2 separate regions of the Homo sapiens genome follow, and region 1 is linked to region 2. Evidence: promoter capture Hi-C in 16 types of primary human blood cells and fetal thymus (Javierre and others, 2016). All regions are on one chromosome and are shown on one strand. Each heading gives the region's core, a stretch centred on a gene start or on the middle of the fragment in contact. The rest is flanking DNA. Distances are from core to core; before and after follow the strand shown. Region 1 has its middle 89 kb from the start of LSM14A. Region 2 holds the start of CHST8 (carbohydrate sulfotransferase 8).

Region 1 (3,374 bases), core at 650-3,149, 460 kb after region 2:
CATGATCTTGGCTCACTGCAACCTCTGTCTCTTGGGTGCAAGTAATTCTCCTACCTCAACCTCCCAAGTACCTGGGATTACAGGCGCCCACCATCACACCCAGCTAATTTTTGCATTTTTAGTAGAGACAGGGTTTCACCACGTTGGCCAGGCTGGTCTCGAACTCCTGACCTCAGGTGATTGGCCCGCCTCAGCCTCCCAAAGTGCCGGGATTACAGGGGTGAGCCACTGCACCTGGCCAATGATACCAATCTTTTAAGGCTCCACCTTCAATGCTCCCTGGTCCACAATTTCTCAAACTAGATGCTTTCACTGATAAGTTTTCTGGCATTCTCTTTATTCTACATTTGTTCCTTGAGCTCCTGAGAACAGGAACCAGATTTTACTTCACATTGGGTCGTGCCATGCCTTCCCAACACTGACAGTTTGGAAAAAGCAGATTCTCAACAGATTACTATTGGGGACCCTTTAAGCCAATGTGCCAATTCATCAAATTAGTTTGGTTTTTCTACCCAAGCAGAACTCACACTTCTACAATATATGTTTCTTCACTAAAGAATAAAGAGCCGGTTAAGAGAATTCATTTCTTTGGCCCTAAAAGCAGGCACAATGATAACTTAAACTGTTAAGAGAAATAAATCCACAGCCCTAAGCCTTGCTGTTCCTATTATAAGAGCTAAAAACCTAAGCTGTCGCCCTCAGTACCTGCCAAAGCTTCCAACTGGGCCCTGATTTGTGAAGAGCAAAGGCCTTACAGGCGTCTTGTGTGGAAGTCACCAGGTCTTCCCTACCAGCGGGGAGAAATATCTAAGCCAGCCATCCATGGCTGGGTGTTTAAATGATAAAGAAAAAAAAAAAAGAAGAACATTTTGAAAAAATCAAGTGACCAAAACTTGAGAGAATATTATGAGAATATCAAACACAATGGAGCTATTTTAAAAGAAAGCAGAAATCTGGAATAATGAAATCGGCAAGAAGAAAACACTAAGAGCAAAAATACATTTATACATAAGACAACTATTTTTCAAAATTCTTGCTCGGCTTTGGATGTTCTGTTTGCCTCCCAGCTACAAACACATTCTTCACACACGCTGGGAATGCTGCTGAAAACTAGTCAGCATTCAGAGGCTTAATCCACAGTCCCGGCGCTGTGCCTGTGGGCTTCATCGTCAGACAGCCATTTGTCCTCAGGAGAGGTTAGGGGTTGAAATGCAAATATGCAAACAACTGAGTTCTTGCCCTAAAATAGCTGAGAAAAGCATGATCCCTTATGCTATCTTTTAAAAATGGAAAAAGAAGAAAAAAAGCTTACAATCTTAAGGATTTGTTTAAATACCTTAGTATGTTGCAATTTTGAAGGAGAAAATGATGGAAAGGAAGAAACACACTTGTCCTGGGTAAAATCTATAATCTGGAGAAAAGGTTGACATACGTGTGACACTTGATTTACCAGACCCACTAAAGATTTATTGATTTATCAATCACTGCCTCAGGCACTTGATTTCCCCCAAGGGAGAATTAACAATTCCCGCCAACTGATGGATTCTATTGTGAACTAAAATGAATGCAAGAATCTATCCTCTCCCTGTGCACAACCTCCAATTACCAAACAAACAAAAAAAAAGTGTATCTCTCTGTTTGGGGAATCCTTAAAATCCTTAAAATTAAAAATTATTTAACAAAAGAAATACTGTATTAAGTAATTGTCACTGGGCCGGGCGCAGTGGCTCACGCCTGTAATCCCAGCACTTGGGGAGGCTGAGGCGATGGATCACCTGAGGTCAAGAGTTCGAGACCAGTCAGGCCAGCCAGGCAAAACCATGTCTCTACTAAAAATACAATAATTAGCTGGGCATGGTGGCGGGTGCCTATAATCCCAGCTACTCAGGTGGCTAAGGCAGGAGAACCACTTAAACCCAGGAGGCAGAGGTTGCAGTGAGCTGAAGTTGTGCCACTGCACTCCAGTCTGGGCAACAAAGCGAGACTCCATCTCAAGAAAAAAAAATCACCCTTGATGCCAATAGACATTTTTAAAGGATGACTTTAACAAGCTCTAAAGGAGATACGGGCATCACAGAAATGTGATTTCATAACGTGGATAGGAACATGATCTTTTATGTTAAATTACCAGGATTGACTGTAGCCTCCACCACTTACGAGATGTGTTATCTTGGGCTTCTTTAAGCCTCAGTTTCACCATCTATAAAATGAGGAGATACACTTGTCCTTAGGAAAATGAGTAGTGAGGATGAATAGAATGCATCTGGCCTAGCCTCTGACATGCAGTCAGCCTTCCATCTGGCAGTTCCATTCCCATTACTGTCACTCTAAAATCATATGAAGTATAACACTATGGAAGGCCACACAGACAGGCTCCAGGGCTGAAACAGTTCACAGAGTATGACAAAGCGCCCTTAACGCTTTTGCAAGGCTCCTTCAGTGTCAACTAAGTGACAGCTTGAAAAGATGTACTTATTAACTAATATATGGATTAAGCTTTCTTTAATATTACCCACTAATCAGAAAATCTAAATCTATCAGAAGATTCTAAAGCAAATATGAGTAAACTATAGCCTGGGTGTCAAATCTGTTCTACCACCTATTTTTGTAAATAAAATATTATTGAAAGTGTAGGGGCAGAAAGGGGGTAATCCCCTGTAACAAAAGGCAGGTTAACAATAGAAAAGTATAACAAATTTTTTACATGCACACTTATGCAGGGATGTCACAGAAAATATGAAAACTCAAAGAGCCCAGTGAGTGATTATTATTATTATTATTTTTATTTTTAGACAGGATCTCACTCTATTGCCCAGGCTGGAGTGTAGTGGTGCCATCTAGGCTCACTGCAGCCTCGCTCTCCTGGACTCCAGCAATCCTCCTCCCACCTCAGCCTCCAGAGTAGCTGGGACTACAGGCATGTGCCACCACGCCTGGATAATTTTTGTTGTTGTTGCAGAGATGGAGTTTTGCCATGTTGCCAAGGCTGGTCTTGAACTCCTGAGCTCAAGTGATCCACCTGCCTTGACCTCCCAAAGTGCTGGGATTACAGGAGTGAGCCACAGTTGAGTGGAATTTTTATGCTATCCTGAGGCTACAGAAAGAATAAGGGGCTTGGGGCTTCCAGAAGAGGTAGCACACAGGTTATGGGAAAAGGAAAGAAGGAAAATTTGTCAAAGTGGTCTTGTCATGCAAATGAAGCATCACAGGTAGCAGCTCTCAGAAAGAATAGAAGTGGACTGTGGCAAAGTTTCTCTGACAAACCTTTAAACGTGTTAGGCTCTTAGTCTCTTTTTCCTGTGAGCTCATCTTTCCTAGATCTGGAGAAGAGGGTGCTCAGAGAAAGCCTGGCTGCTTATTTCACTAATGTAGAT
Region 2 (3,370 bases), core at 237-2,736:
CAGCGCAGCCCCAGGCCTGGGTCACTCCGAGCCTAAAGTCCTGGAAAGGGAACCCCAGAACAAAGCCTATCCCAGTTTGGAATCATCACACCTGGGCCATTCTCCAGATGCGTGGAGTCCAGCAAAATGGTGGCATTTTTGCATCTCAATTCGCTCATCTGTAATACGGGAGTGATAATGTCTACTCTGTTGCTGCAAGAATTAAAGGAAGACCATGATCTCTTTGTCATGCTTCTATTTATCTTCTTATCTGTCCTGGTCTATTTTTGGATGCTCTGAGCTTACCTGGGGCATTAAGGAGGCCTCATGGCCCTGGGGCTGAGGGGCTCCCTGGCCGTCCCCAGGAGTGGCTCTGCTCTCCGCCTGGTGTCCCCCACTCTGGTCAGTCAAGACCCATGGGCCCAGCTCACTCCCCAATTCCATCACTCACTCTAGGTCAGCTGGTAGGAGTCAGGCCAACCAGCCAGCAGGTACCATTAGAGAGGAGAGAGTAAGGGTCTTTCACTTTATTAAAGGCTTCTCTGCTGTTGTTTGAAAATACTGAGTGTCCCTTCAAGACTAACAGGTGACTGTGTGCACAGTTTCCTCCAGCTCCTGTGAGAAAGCAGTTGCCCCCCTTCCCAAGGCCTGCTTGTCCCCTGCAGGCTGGGGCTGCCTCTTCTTAGGAAGAACAAGGACCCGAATCCAGGGCCCCGTGTTCCTGTCCCTACTCTGTCCCGGTGCTGTGTGGCCGTGGGCCGGTTCCACCCTCCACGCTGTTTTCCCGAGTGTGTATGAAGAGGGTCGGTTGGCCCCGCTCTCAGGCTGGTGACCCGACACAAACTTCCAGGATGAAGTCCTGAAGGGAGCACCTGTTCGCAGGGCACTTTCAGCAGAATCTAGAGCCCCAGGGATTTGAGGATGGATGCGGACACCCGGGCCTGAGGCAGCTCGCGGCCTTGACCGAATTCCACGCGAGCTGAAGCCCAGGGATATCCCAGAATCTTCCTCAGGATCAATCTTCCGCCTTTCACCGGCCCTGCGCCCCCGCAGCATCGGGTCCTGGGCGCGCGCCCCTGCCCCGCTGTGGTCAAGGCCCGCCCCGGTGACGCCTGGTCCTTTTCCCGGGTTGGCGCCGCGTGCGACCCACCGAGGCAGTGGCAGCACTGGCCGCGGTCTGGAGCCTAGCGTCAGGCCGGAGTCCGGCTCTCCTGAACCGGGAGACCGGCGCAGCCCCAGCCACGACCGCTCCCACCCCCGCGGCCGCCGGACCGCGCCCAGCAGCGACTCTTTCTGAGAGCGCTGCCAGAGGGGCCGCGGGAGCCGCAGAGCGCGCGTGGGCGCGGCGCCCGCGAGCCCCCGGGAGGGCCGAGTGCATCGCTGGAGCGATCCCCGCCCGGCCCGGCCACCGCCGTAGCCGCCACCACGGCGGGGCGGGGCACGGGCCGGGGGCGGGGCGCCGGGCGGGCGCGGCGCTATTTCCAGCCTCGCCGGAGGCTTCGCTCTCACTTCGCTGGGAGCCTTCCCGGCGCGCAAGCCGGATCCGGCAGTGCTGCGGGGAGGAGAGAGGACGAGGCGGCGGCGGCAGCAGGAGGTGGGGGACCGATCGCGCCGGGGGCCGAAGAGGAACGCCGCCCCGCGCCCTCTCGCTCCCCGCACGCTCCGGCTGCCGGCCCCACGCTGCTCGCCCACAGATCGCACTGGGTTCCGCTTGGAGCGGGCGGAGGCACCGGGCCCGAGCTGGGTCGGAGGTCCTCTCCGCCGCCTGCGCGCCCCAAGCAGAGGATCCGCCGCGGAGAACCGCTCCCGGACTGGAGGCGCCCGCGGCCTCGGGTGCGTCCGCTGCGCCAGGTAAGTGGCTGCGCCCCTGCCCCACCCCTGTTCCCGCCCTGCGCAGGCTCCTGGCCTGCAGAGACGCCAGGAAGGGGTCCCGAGCGGGCCCCGGACTGCACCGCTCGCCATCCCCGCCACCGCACGCGAATGGGAGTCCGAAGCTGCGGGCGGAGGTGGGCGCGCGGGGCTCGGGTCTGGTTGCACTTTGGGGACCGGCCCCGGTAGCGGGAACTTTAATTAGACTTTCTCTCCTTGGATCTCACTCGCTGCCGCGCTTCTGGGAACTGCCGTCCCTCGGGCCCTCTTGGTCCCTGCGGACTCCCGCTCCGCCTCCTGGCCCTCGGTGCTGCCCGCGGGGAGGCGGCGTCGGGCGCTGAGCAGCGAGCGCCGAGGGCCAGGCAGGAGCGCTCGGGGCGCTGGGGCTTCCTGGCGCGCTCGGAGCCGGGGCTCCGGACGGGTTGCGGCGGGCAGAGACTATGGGGGAAGTTTAAGTGGCCTTGGCTTCCTACCCAGCGGCTCCGTCGCGCGCGTCCCCGACCCGCAACTCTCCAGGGCACCGGCCTGTGAGTGCTGGAGGCGAGTGTGCGTGCGTCAGCGATGGTGTGAAGGTGTGTGCGTGCGTGTGTCGGGAGTGCGGGAGTCGGAGCCTGGGGCGGCTCCAGGGGGCGGGGAAATGATCCGTTTGGCCGCGGGACCGAGCCGAGCTCTGACGGCGGCTGCAACTCCGGCTACCGACTCTGCAGACCCGCTCTGGCCTCGCTGGAGGCCAGCCGGGCCAGGAGGGCGATCACGGGTTTTGGCAGTGCCCGATGCTGGGGCTTGGGTCTGATGTGACCCCGATTCCTTCTCCAGTGCGGGACTCCCGCCGCCCTAACTTTCGCGTACATCTTGTCTCCAGGCCCGCGACCCCGACCCGGAGTTGAAGCGGCTGCGGCGCCCTCGGCTGTGGGCGCTGCTGCCCGGCTGTCTGTTTTAACCCAGAAGTAGGCGCCGATCCTGGGGCTCTCTGTCCTGCAGTCGTCTCCGGCGTCCCAGAGGACTCTGCGTCCCTGGGCCACTCCCGCTGGCTCAGGAGCCGTGATCAGCTCCGTTAAGGGGAACGCGCGTCCCGGCCCCTCTCCATCTGCTTGGCGCGATCTGGCGCAGCAGCAGAGCACGTGGGAGAGGCGTTGGGTGCAGGGAGGTAGTAGCTGCTTTGGAGTGGATGGTGGAGAGGGGCGGGGGACAGAGGGGTAAGAGGCAGATCAACCCCCTTTTATTTCCCACCGCCGCCCAAGGCCCCCAGGAGCTACAATACCAAGCCCACTTTCCTGGGTAACCTTTCTCTTCTGAGTTCACCTTGACCCTTGCCTACCTGTGGGGAAGTCTTTCCCTAAGTCCTGCCCTAGGACAGGGCACCCGTGGAGCAGGTGTGGCAGAGCCCTTAACATTTTCCAGCTGTCATGACCTTTCCTGCCCACCCTGTGCCCTGTCCCAAAGGCAAGGCAGACAGGCCACAGGAAGGACACTCATCCCAGCAGGAGATCCTCTTTTAATTTTAATCAGGACACCCCAAGCA

What was found. The method cuts DNA at HindIII sites, captures the fragments that hold promoters and counts their contacts. A CHiCAGO score of 5 or more calls a contact.
Region 1: a contact is called between a fragment that was not itself captured here and the fragment with the promoter of CHST8 in region 2, in 1 of 17 cell types (M2 macrophages). The highest score is 5.0, in M2 macrophages.

The regions. Positions count from the first base shown.
Region 1 is chr19:34,081,744-34,085,117 of GRCh38, forward strand. No RefSeq gene overlaps it. Among named protein-coding and RNA genes, the nearest start is that of LSM14A, 89 kb to the right of the region's middle. The HindIII fragment of the contact is 1,189 bases long and covers 1,306-2,494 here.
Region 2 is chr19:33,620,467-33,623,836 of GRCh38, forward strand. CHST8 (carbohydrate sulfotransferase 8) reads left to right here and starts at 1,487. Exons shown (of 5, transcript NM_001127895.2): 1 at 1,487-1,830. RefSeq lists an enhancer at 448-1,192. The HindIII fragment of the contact is 23,667 bases long and covers 1-3,370 here.